Linked DNA regions of Homo sapiens: region 1 is linked to region 2. Evidence: promoter capture Hi-C in 16 types of primary human blood cells and fetal thymus (Javierre and others, 2016). All regions are on one chromosome and are shown on one strand. Each heading gives the region's core, a stretch centred on a gene start or on the middle of the fragment in contact. The rest is flanking DNA. Distances are from core to core; before and after follow the strand shown. Region 1 has its middle 25 kb from the start of TGILR. Region 2 holds the start of FAM50B (family with sequence similarity 50 member B).

The links. The method cuts DNA at HindIII sites, captures the fragments that hold promoters and counts their contacts. A CHiCAGO score of 5 or more calls a contact.
Region 1: a fragment that was not itself captured here is called in contact with the fragment with the promoter of FAM50B in region 2 in 1 of 17 cell types (endothelial precursors); the score reaches 5.3 in endothelial precursors.

The regions. Positions count from the first base shown.
Region 1 is chr6:3,933,809-3,940,391 of GRCh38, reverse strand. No RefSeq gene overlaps it. Among named protein-coding and RNA genes, the nearest start is that of TGILR, 25 kb to the right of the region's middle. The HindIII fragment of the contact is 640 bases long and covers 3,465-4,104 here.
Region 2 is chr6:3,845,656-3,851,394 of GRCh38, reverse strand. FAM50B (family with sequence similarity 50 member B) reads right to left here and starts at 2,022. Exons shown (of 2, transcript NM_012135.3): 1 at 1,909-2,022; 2 at 78-1,606. The coding sequence starts at 1,583. The coding sequence ends at 606. It overlaps LOC107986557 (a long non-coding RNA gene), which reads left to right and starts at 2,029. Exons shown (of 3, transcript XR_001743931.2): 1 at 2,029-2,079; 2 at 2,746-3,006; 3 at 5,303-5,739. RefSeq lists an enhancer at 1,839-1,958 and a silencer at 2,229-2,348. The HindIII fragment of the contact is 3,705 bases long and covers 221-3,925 here.

The DNA.
Region 1 (6,583 bases), core at 2,535-5,034, 87 kb before region 2:
GATTGGCAGAGATAGGAAAACTCACATCATGCCCTATGCCCATGAGAGACTGGGAAAAGCACCTGCTCATATATTACTGGTGGGAGCATTCATAGACACAGCGCTTTCGTAAGACTGTTTGGCAGTGTGTGATGACAGTTTAGAACTTGCACACTCATTTTCCGACATGGGAATTTCTTCTTAATTCATGCTGAGATAAGCAGACAAACCTCAAAGGAGACTGGCCGAGGATGGCTGAGTGCAGCGTTATTTATCTCCCATGCCGTCAGTGGAGAGCCTGCTCTGCCTCCTGTTCCGGTGATGTGCAACTCACTGGATTCAGAGCTTATGCGTAGCCCCAGGGCAAACCCAAGGTACCCGGCTAGTGACTGAAGGGACATTTCTTCTGTTCTGGGTAGAACAGTCACAGATTCTAGAGCAGGGGCCCTGACACTTGATGAGGAGCATCCACTTTGTCTTTCCCTGAAGCAAATCATTAATGTCCAGCACATGGCAGTTATGTCAGCTCCACAGATGGAGCCTGGCCCATGTGGCTGCTGTCCCCTGGGCTCAGCGTCCCTGCTCTGAGATCCACCTGCAGGTATTTAGCCAGGGCAGGTCTGGTCTCCTGCACTGACTGGCACCAGCCAGGATTAGAGACTGAGTGGCCTGGGGCTCCCTCCTGTGTCACCTTCGTTAAAGCTTCGAGTTCCAGGAGCAGCAGCCTTCTCCTTCCACCCTCTTCAGGAACACCACTGGAGCCTGGTGGCCATCTGGGTGACCCGATGCCCTCAGAGCAGCAGGGTTTGCTCCGTCGTCATGAATGGCATCTCCATGTGCCAGTGTCATCAGATGGTCAGAATGGGGTGTGGGGAGCACAAGGCAGTTGTGTTGTGGATTTTTTTTTCCTAGAGGAATTAGAAACCTATTTACATACAGTTAGCATGAATTTACATACGATCCTCTCATAACTAACTCCAAAAACTTCTCTATGAATTCAACTAATTAGTGCAACTAATCACTATTGTAGCCCAACCCAGCATTAAGGGCATTAAATACATAAAATACTGAATAGATTTGTAAAGTCATCATCATGATAATGGTAAATCAGCTTAGGTCGCTCCCAAACACAGCTGGCAATAGCTGCTCCCAGTCCTGATTCTTTATGCTGGAGCGATAGCTCAATTAACAAATTCCAGAGAAATTGTACCTTTATAACAGTTGGCTGAGTTAACTCCTACTCCCCACCTCCCCTAAAAAGCACAAAGAAGGAAAAGAAACTAATGTTAATTTACCATCTTTCATTCAATAGGCACTGTGCTAAGGGGGCACAGTTATTATTCCACATGTATTCTGTCATTCAATAAGAAATCTACATAGTTGTTGGTTGATGAAGAGAAGAACACATAGAGAATGTCACATTGTAGATTTGTAGGTTATCTGAGATTGCCCTTAGGGTGTGCAGTGTTTGGCCTGCATGAATGCCTGCCGCAGCTGAGTCTACCTTTCCCTCCTTTCTTACCCTGTATCCTGGAGTGACTAGACCACGGCCTGCCTTACTTGAGAATAGAAACTGTGGGGAGGGGAGCAGCTCAACCTGCTCTGCCACTGGCCATGTGTTGAATCCCAACTGATGGGTTCCACTGGGCATTGATATTGTCCTGCACATTATTGAAATGACATGCTCACCACTGGTGTGTATAGCTGACTTTCAGTAGGATTTGGGGAAATGTTACCCCTTCAGAGGTTGGGCAGGGGATAGGAGGGATCTGTTCTCAAACAGTACAAGAGTCCTCAAAATTCAAGCTACTCTGTGCAGTCATCTTAAAGTACTGATTTTTTTTCTTCCTTTCTTTTTTTTTTTTTTTTTTTTTTGAGATGGAGTCTCGCTCTGTCACCTAGGCTGGAGTGCAGTGGAGCAATCTTGGCTCACTGCACCCTCTGCCTCCCAGGTTATAGTGACTCTCCTGCCTCAGCCTCCTGAGTAGCTGGGATCACAGGTATGCACCACCACGCCTGGCTAATTTTTGCATTTTTGTAGTAAGAACAACCTGTGAGTCATTCTCCTGGTGAATACCTTTCCACTGTGGCCCTAGGGCCTAGAACCTTCTCCTGTGGACCTGACTACCAGCAACAGAGAAGTTTACTTCTTGCAGATGAGCTCAGTTCTGTGCTAATGAGCTCTTCTTTCCCCACTGCTGCCCCCAGACATGGCTGCATAAACCTTCGCCAGCCAACCTTTGCTGTGGAGGGCAACCATGGTGAAATCCACCGCCATTGGCCTTGAACAGAGACGGTGTCCTGGCTGAGAAGTTAGAGGGAGGAGAAGTGTCTAGTCTTCATAGCTTTCCAAAATGGTCCTGTCCTGTGTGGCAGGGTGTTTCTAGGGTAATAGAGTTTCAGTTATACTGTGGCCTGATTGATATCCAAACACTCCATGGAACTTTTTTTCTAGAAAAAAAATGTGTGGCTACCAATAAATTCATAAACAAATTGATAGGTAATTCTTTTGTAATTTGGGGTAGACCGCCTGGTCCAATATTTTAAAGCTATTGTAGCATAGTTATTTTTAAAATAAATCACTGCCCTACCTTAAGTCAATTTCTCCCAACACCAGAGTGATAGTTCAAAATTATAAATGTGAGTAAACTGTAGAATGAAATTTCCAGTGTCTCTGAATGGACTGTGCTCATTGCCCTGTCATTGCCCATTGTCTTATCCATCCACTAAGATCTCACTTTCCTCCTTCTGTGACTTCCCCTTCTTTGAACGTCTCTGGGACCTGCTTGATTAGGCACTGCCTTGCGTGTTCATTTTTTTTTTTTTTTGAGTTTTGTATTGTGAAGTAGATTTTAAGTCCCATGAGTGAGAAGATGTATCTTATGCTGCTTCTGTATTGGTAGCACCATTTGGCTCACTGTTATATGTCCCAATATGAAGCTATGTTTCTCATGTTGAGTTTAGGTGATATCACATGGCTATAAAGGGGTCAGTTCTCCAACAAGACAAAACAATTCTTCATGTATATTCACCCAGCAACAAAGCATCAAAATATAAAGCAAAAACAGATAGAATACAAGGAGAAATACATGAATTCCATGTTATAGCTGGAGACTTCAACACCAGTATATCAGTAATTGACAAATCTAACAGGCAGAATATCAGTGAGGTCATAGTTGTACTGAGCAGAACCATCAATCAACTGGATGTAATTGACATTGTAGACAATTTATCTAACAACAGCAGAGTAAGCATTCTTCTCAAATTCATGCAGCTCATTCAACAGGATACACCACACTCTGGGCCATAAAACATACCTTAACAAATTTATAAGACTAGAAATCATACAAAGTTTGCTGTAAGACCACAATGAAGTTAAAATTAAAAAAAAGAAACAGATAGTCGGAAAATCCCAAAATCCTTGGAGATTAAACAATACACTTCGAAATAACACATGGGTCAAGGAATAGGTCTCAAGAGAAGCTTAAAAGTGGTTTGAATTAAATAAAAATGCAAATACAACTTTTCAAAATTTGTGGAATGCAGTAAAAACAGTGATGGGGGACATTCATAGCACTGAATGAACATATTAGAAAAAAGATATATCTAAAATCAATAATCTAGTTTCGAATTTACTATTAGAAAAAAGATATACCTAAAATCAATAATCTAGTTCCCAATTTACCTTAGGAAACTAGAAAAAAGAGAAATCCAAAATAAGCAAATGAAAAGAAATAATAATAATAAAATAAAAATTAGAACAGAAATCCAAATAAGCAGACAAAAAGAAATAATAAAAATTAGAACAGAAATCAATGAAATTGAAAGCAGAAAATCAACCCCAAAGTTGATTCTTTGAAAAGATGAATAAACTTGACAAACCTTTAGCCAGACTAAGGAAGACAGTAGAAACAATACTAACACCAGAAAATAAAGATGGGCCATTGTGATGCCATGAACATTAAAGGGATAATAAAGGATTATTATGAACAACTCTACGTCCACACATTTGATAGCCTAGATAAAATGGATCAATTCCTTGTATCAATTCCTCTATCCAGACTCTCAGAAGACACATAGGTAATCTCAATAGAACTAAGTCTGCTAAATTTTAATCAATAAGCTTCCAGCTAGGCATGGTGGCTCACACCTGTAATTACAGCACTTTGGGAGGCTGAGGCAGGAGGATCCCTTGAGTCCAGGAGTTCAAGACCAGCCTGGGCAACATAGTGAGACCCTGTCTCCACACTAACTAAAAAAATTAGCTGGACATGGTGACATGTGCCTGCAGTCCCAGCTACTTGCAAGGCTGAGGTGGGAGGATCGCTTGAGCCTGGGAGTTTGAAGCTATAGTGACCCATGATAGTGCCACTGCACTCAGCCTGGGTGACAGAGTGAAACCCTGTCTCAAAAAAACAAACAAAACAAAACAAAACAAAAACAACTTCCAAAACAGAAAGCAGCAGGCCCAAATAGATTCACAGGTGAATTCTACCAACATGTAAGGAAGAAATTATACCAATTCTCTACAATCTTTTCTAGAATGTAAAAGAAGAGAGAATAATTTCTAACTCATCCTACGAAGCCAGTATTACTCTAATATAAAAACCAAAAACATTACAAGAAAGGAAAACTATAGACTGATATCACTGATGAACGTAGACAGAATAATCCTCAACAAAATATTAGCAAATCAAATCCAGCAGTGTATTATTTCAGGCATGCAAGCCTGGTTCACCATTTGAAGGTCAATTAATGCAATCTATCACATGAACATGCTAAAGAATAAAATATATGATCATATCAATAGATGCAGAAAAAGTATTTGATAAAATTCAAACTCATTCATGACTAAAAAAAAAAAAAAAAAACTCTCCACAAACCAGGAACAAAGGGTAATTTCCTTAATTTTATAAGAAATATTTACCAAAACCCTACAGCTAACCTCATACTAAGAGTGAGAAAGTAGATGCTTTCCTGGTAACATCAGGAATAAGGCAAGGACATCCCCTCTTACACCATTTAGACTCAACATTGTTGCGATGTCCTAGCTTACACAATAAAACAAGAAAAGGAAAGAGACAACACAGTCCCTGGGTGTCTATGGAAAATTGATTCCAGGAACCTGTCTTTCATACCCAAATCCATGGATCCTTAAGTTCCTTATATAAAATGGTGTCGTATTCGCATGTAACCTACATACACCCTCCCACAAACTTTAAATTACCTCTAGATTATACTACCTAAAAATGCTATGAAAAATAGTTGTTATGCTGTATTGTTTTTTAAGTGGTATTTTTAAAATTGTCTTTTCCCAAATAGTTTGATCCATGGTTGGTTGAATTCGTGGATGCAGAACCCACATATATGAAGAGCTGATTGTAAATAGATTGGAAAGGAAGAAACAAAACCATCTTTTTTTTTTGTACATTACATGACTGTCTATGTAGAAAATCCCAAAGGATCAACGGAAGTCCTAAAACTGCTGAACAATTATAGTAAGCCTGCAGGATACAAGATTAATATAAAAATATCCATTGCCTTCCTGCATACCAATAATGAACAATTGGAATTTGAAATTTAAAACAAATTGTCATTTAAATTATTTAGCACCAAAAAGAAAGAAAGATTTAGGTTCAAATCTAACAAACCAAGTACGAGATCTATATGAAGAAAACTACAAAACTCTGTTGAAAGACATCAAAAAAGATCTAAATAAATTGAGAAATAATCCATGTTTGTGACTAGAAAAACTCAACATTGGCAAGATTTCAGTTTTTCCAGACCTGATCTACAGATTCAACACAATCCCAATCAAATCCCAGCAAGTTATATTGTAGATATCAACAAACTGATTCTAGGGTTTATATGGAAAGGCAAAAGACCCAGAATAGTCAACAAAAATATTGAAGGAGAATAATAAAGTCAGAGAAATAATGCTATACAACTTCAAGATTTACTATAAAGTTACAATAATCAAGACAGTGTAATATTGATGAAAGATTAGTGAAATAGATCTATGACATACAAGTGAGATCTCAGAAATAGATCCACATAAATAGAGTCAACTTGTCTTTGACAAAGGACAAAGACAATTCAATGGAGCAAAGATGGTCTTTTCAACTAATGATACTGGATCAACTGGACATCCACATACAAAAAAGACCTTAGACACAGACCTTACACCCTTTCTAAAAATTAACTCAAGATGGATCACAGACCTAAATGTAAAATATAAAACTATCAAACTCTAAAAGATAACATAGGAGGCCAGGCATGGTGGCTCACACCTGTAATTCCAATGCTTTGAGAGGCTGAGGCTGGAGGATCACTTGAGGCCCGGAATTTGAGACCAGCCTGGGCAACATAGTGAGACCTCGTCTCTAGAAAAAATAAAATTAGCCCAATGTGATGGTATGCATCTGTGTCCCAGCTCCTTGGGAGGCTGAGGCAGGAGGATTGCTTGAGCCTGGAAGGTCAAGGCTGCAGTGAACCGAGACTGCACCACTGCACTACAGCCTGAGTAACAGAGTGACAACCTGTCTCAAAAAAGAATTTTTTTTTTGTATAGCTGTACGATGTGTTTGTGTTTTAACAGTCAAAA
Region 2 (5,739 bases), core at 773-3,272:
GGCAGGTCCACCTTTGCCCTCAAATGGTTCTGAACTAGGTCATTGCAGTCCTTTAAATAAATTAACCAAAACCATAATAATAACAACAGAAACATTTATTAAGAGCTAAGCGTTTTACAAATATTAATTCACTTAATACTCACATCAATCTTATAAAGTAAGTGCTCTTGTTATTTCCTTTTACAGGTGACCAAACTGAGGCATGGGGGTTTAATAAGCTTACCCAAAACTACACAGCAAGGAGGAGGCTGTGTCGGGAATCAAACTCAGTCACTGTGGCCCCCAAGTCCATGCTCATAACCACCAGGTAAAAAATGTGCCTCCTATTCTAATTTCTGTCTGACAGTGGGCCCAGTCATGGTTTCAATACAGCTCAGCAGAGCAATGCAGCAAATCCAGGTGGCAACACTAAAATACTCAGAAAAGACCAACCAAGCAACCAAAGCATAACATCAGCAATAGCACAACCAATGTGAATCATGAGAACCCTCTGTCTTTATTAAATTTGGGGGAAGAAATCAAGGTCACGAAATCAAGTGACTGGTGATGGGGCCTAGAAATGAGTGTCTCCCCCCACCCCCGGTTTCCGCTCTGGCAGGCGGGTGTTAGCGGATGGTGTACTTGTCCCACTTCTTCTCGGGGTCATAGGCCTCCCAGCGGCTGGCGGGGAAGATGTGCTTGTTCTTCTCGTACCAGCTGCGCAGCACCACCTTGCCCGCGTGCGACTCGTCCTTCTCCATGGTGGCGTCGCTGAGCAGGCGCACGTCATCGTGCACATCGAAGCTGAAGAGCGGCCCGCTCTTGCCCCTCGCCCTGGCGATGATGAAGTCGTAGAAGGTGTGGTAGTGCGGCAGGATGAGGTCCTCCTTGATGAACATGAGCTGCTCCACGCCGGCGGAGCGCAGCTCCAGGAAGTCCTTGCGCAGCCCCTGCAGCGCCTTCTTCAGGAACTGCTGCACCGTGTTGCCCTTGCGCACCCGCACCGTGCGCCGGTGGCCCGAGCCGTCCCAGTAGCTGAAGGTGACCTCCATCTCCTCGTCCTTCACTTTCTCGCGCTGCGCCTCCCACTCTTGGCGCAGCTCCTCTCGGAGCCGGTTCTCCTCCTCCTCGCGGTCGCGGTCTGGCAGGAAGCTGGTGTCCACGTCGGGGTTCTTGCCCAGGTTTCCGGCGCGCCTGGCCTCGGCCGCGTCGGCCTGGTCATCGAGGTCGTCTAGTGCAAAGGACAGGCAGGAGATCTTACGCTTGCGCTCGCGCCGCTGCTCCTGCTCCCGCTGCCGCTCCTGCTGCAGCCGCTGCTCCTCCAGGTGCTGGCGCTTGGCCAGCTGCCGCTCGCGCTCCCTGACCAGGGCCTCCTGCCGGGCCTTCATGTCGTTCAGGGTCACCAGGCCCACCGTGCTGGACTTCAGCTCGGCCTCCACGGCGTCGTAATGCGCCGAGAACCTCTTGTCCACCTGCGACTTGAGGATGGTCTCCTCGGCGATGCGCTGCTTCAGCACCTCCATCTGCTCCCGCTGCCTTTCGCGCTTCTTGAGGAGGTGCATGGCACGGCCTGCCTCGCGCATGGTGCCCTTGTACTGCGCCATGGCCCGCGCCTACCCGATGGGCTCTGCAGCAAAGAGGAAAAACGCGGCAGGTAGAGGGGGGCCCACGCAACGGCGGGGAATGCTCAGCTCTGCGCCTCCTCACAGGGCTTTCGGCAGTGATGGAAGCGTTCAGGGGCTGGGCCGACCTGCTAGGGTAACCACCAACCTGACAGTGTCACCAGGCACCAATTTCCAGCATTTTATTTGACCTCAATAAATGCAAATGCGAACGGCCCCACGTAACGGGTGGCTGCCATGCCTGAGCGCAGCGCTGAATTTGGGGAGCTGCATACAGAGAGGGTTGGGCTACTGAGCGGACCCTTACCTGCCCAAGCACCCTGTCGAGCGGAGACACGCGGGAGCTGACCTCCACGAGAACCACCCACGAGCAGAGGCCCACTCGCCCCGGGCTCTCGCGACAGCCGTGGACACAGGAAGTGGAGGCGGTGCGCCCCCTGGCGGGGAGGCGGGCCCTGAGGAGAGTGCCAGGCTCCTGGTAGGGCGGCTGCGGAAACAGGAAGTGGAGGTGGATCGCCCCCTGGCGGGGAGGCGGGCCCTGGGAAGAGCTCCGGGCTCCTGGTAGGGGCGGTGCTCCTGTGGGGCGGGCCAGCGCGGGGAGGATCCTGGAGGAGGCGCTTCTGGCCCTGCCCAGCCGTGGCTGGCCGGGGCTCCTGTTTTCACGCTGTGGGCAGGGCGGGCCCCCACCTGCTGTGCGTGCGTGCTGAGCCTTCTCGTGCCCAACTGTAAACACGCAGAAGCAATGTGGGCGCAGCGCAAGCTGCTGTGGCCACCCAGAGAGCCTTGCAACACGGCCCTGCTCTCCAACCCTCCTCCTCCCGCCTCTGATGCTACCCCGCTGTGGCGTCTCGTGAACATTACCTGCGCACCACTGCCTGTAATTCTTTCTTATGGCCCCAACACAACCATTCTTTGATAATAGAACCCTACTCGCCCCCCAGTTTCGTGACAAAACCTGCACTCAGCTTGTTTGACCTCTTCTATACAGCAGTTTCCCCCGGGTTCTAAGCTCTAATAACCATGGGACACTGAGTTAAAGTGTAGCAGTGTCTTTACTGTGAGCCTCTAACATGCCAGTTTCCACTGTAACTCTCCAAGAGCAGGGCAGACCAGTTCATGTTTCGTGACCGTTTCTCCCCTGCAGGAGATCTGGTAACACTCGCCGAAACCAGTGCTTCCTGGGACCTAGTTTGGAAAAGCTGGTTGTGAAATACATACTGCGGTTCAGCCTCCTCCCGCCTAAGAGCAACAATGCCTGTGAGCATAACCTTACCAAGAAGCGTGAATCATATGATAATTACATATGGCACCCACATATCCAGAGGAGAACAGCACGGTGTGAGCCCTCATCAAATTGTCCAAGCCAGAAACCTAGGCCTTTTCCTGGAATGACGTTCCTCCACAGGTAATCAATTACAGAAGAGCCTTTCACACTTTCCTTTTTCTCCCATTCCCCACCACTTGCCTTAATCTAGGAAATTAGCATTTTTTTTAATCTAAAGCCTTCTCATTGTTGCCCCATCACCAGAATACAAGAATATCTTATTTTATTGAGCTCTGGGATACTGTGTGTTTTGTTTTTGTTTTTACAAATTGAAGATTTGTGGCAACACAGCGTCAAGCGCCTACTGGCTCCATTTTTCCAGCAGCATGTGCTCACTTCGTGTTCCTGTGTCACATTTTGGTAATTCTTGCAATATTTCAGACTTTTTCATTGTGATATCTGCTATGGTGATCTGTGATCATCGTTCTGTGAGGTTATTGTAATTGTTTGGGGGCACTCCGAAGTGTGCAGTAGAAGACAAAGACGTTTATTGATTTAACTGATAAATGTTATGTATGTTCTGACTGCTCCACTGACTGGCTGTTCCTTCATCTCTCTTCCTGTCCCTAGGCTTCCCTAGTGCCTGAGACACAGCAATATTGAAATTAGGCCAATTAATAACCCTACAATGGCCTCTAAGTGTTCAAGTGAAAAGAAGTGTCACACGTCTCTCACTTTAAATCAAAGGCTAGAAATGATTCAGCTCAGTGAGGAAAGTATGTCAAAAGCCAGGATAGGCCAAAAGCTAGGCCTCTTTTGCCAAACAGTTAGCTAAGTTGTGAATGCAAAGGAAAAAAATCTTGAATGAAACTGAAAGCGCTTTCCTGGTAAACATATGAATGATAAGAAAGCAAAACAGCCTTATTGCTTATATGGAGAAAGTTCTAGTGGTCTGGATAGAAGATCAAACCAGCCACGACATTCCCTTAAACCAAAGCCTAATCCAGGGCAAGGCCCTAAGTCTCTTCAATTCTGTGAAGCTGAGAGAGGTGAGGAAGCTTCAGAAGAAAAGTCTGAAGGTAGCAGAGGTTGGTTCATGAGGCTGAGGAAGGAAGTCACCTCTATAACATAAAGTGCAAGGTGAAGCAGCAAGTGTGATGGAGAAGCTGCAGCAGGTTATCCAGAAGATCTAGCTAAGAGCACTGATGACGGAGGCTACCCTAAACAATACATTTTCAATGTAGACAAAATAGCCTTCTATTGGAAGAAGATGCCATTTAGGACTTTTATATCTAGAGAGGAGAAGTCAATGCCTGGCTTCATGGCTTCAAAGGACAGGTTGACTCTCTTGCTAGGGGCTAGTGTAGCTGGAGACTTTCAGTTGAAGCCAATGCTCACTTACCATTCTGAAAATCTTAGTGCCCTTAAAAATTATGCTAAATCTACTGTGCCTGTGCTCTGTAAATGGAACAACAAAACCTGGAGGACAGCACATCTGTTTACAGCATGGTTTACTGAATATTTTTAAGCCCAGTGTTGAGACTTACTGCTCTGATTATTCCTTTCAAGATATTATTACTCATTAACAATGCACTTGGTCACCTAAGAGCTTGATGGAGATGCTCAAGGAGATTAAAGTTGATTTCATGCTTGCTAACACAACATCCATTCTGCAACCCATAGATCAAGGAGTAATTTTGACTTTTAAGTCTTATTATTTAAGAAATACATTTCCAAAGGTTATAGCTGCTGTATGTAATGATTTCTCTGATGGATCTGGGCAAAGTAAATTGAAATTTTTCTGGAAGGCATTCACCACTGTAGGTGCCATGAAGGACATTCACAGTTTTTGGGAGGAGGTAAAATATCAACATTAACAGAAGTTTGGAAGAAGTTGATTCAAACAGCATTACATGTTACAAAGAAATCTTTCGTGAAAGGTAGAATCAATCAATGTGACAAACTCAATATTGATTTAAGAAACTGCCACAGGCCCAGCCTTTGGCAACCACCACCCTGATCAGTCAGCAACCATCAACACTGAGGCAAGACCCTCCACCAGCAAATAGAGCACAGCTCACTGAATGCTCAGAGGATCATTAGCATTATTTAGCAATTAAGTATTTTTAATGAAATTATGCACATTATTTTCTTAGACAAAATGCTACTGCACACTTACTAGACTATAGTATAGTATAAACATAACTTTTATATGCACTAGAAAATTTAAAAATTTGTGTGACTGTCTTTGTGGTGGTCTGGAACTGAACCCACAGTATCTCCGAGGTATGCCTGTATTCTTGTTCTTGTCTAACTTCTATACAATATCCTCAGAGATCTTCATAAAAAATGAATCTGATAACATTACTCTCCTACTTGAAAAACTCCAACTTCCCTTGTAACAGCCACATCAGAATCTCTTTGTTTGTCCTCTAAGGTCTCTAATAGGTGGACCCCTGCAGCATTCACCCAGCTTTTTCACTGCGCCTGAATAGAAGATGCCCTTTCAGGCCAGGCGCAGTGGCTCACACCTGTAATCCCAGCACTTTGGGAGGCCGAGGCGGGTGGATCACGAGGTCAAGAGATCGAGACCATCCTGGCCAACATGGTGAAACCCCGTCTCTAATAAAAATAAAAATAAAAAAAATTAGCTGGGTGTGGTGGTGCATGCCTTGTAGTCCCAGCTGCTCGGGAGGCTGAGGCAGAAGAATTGCTTCAACCCAGGAGATGGAGGTTGCAGTGAGCCAAGATCGCACCACTGCACTCCAGCCTGGTGACCCAGAAAGACTTCATCTAAAAAAAAAGTTGCCCTTTCATAACTGTTACCTCTGGACGTACTCTTTCTAGAAAGTCCTGCCCTTCGCTGTGCTATCC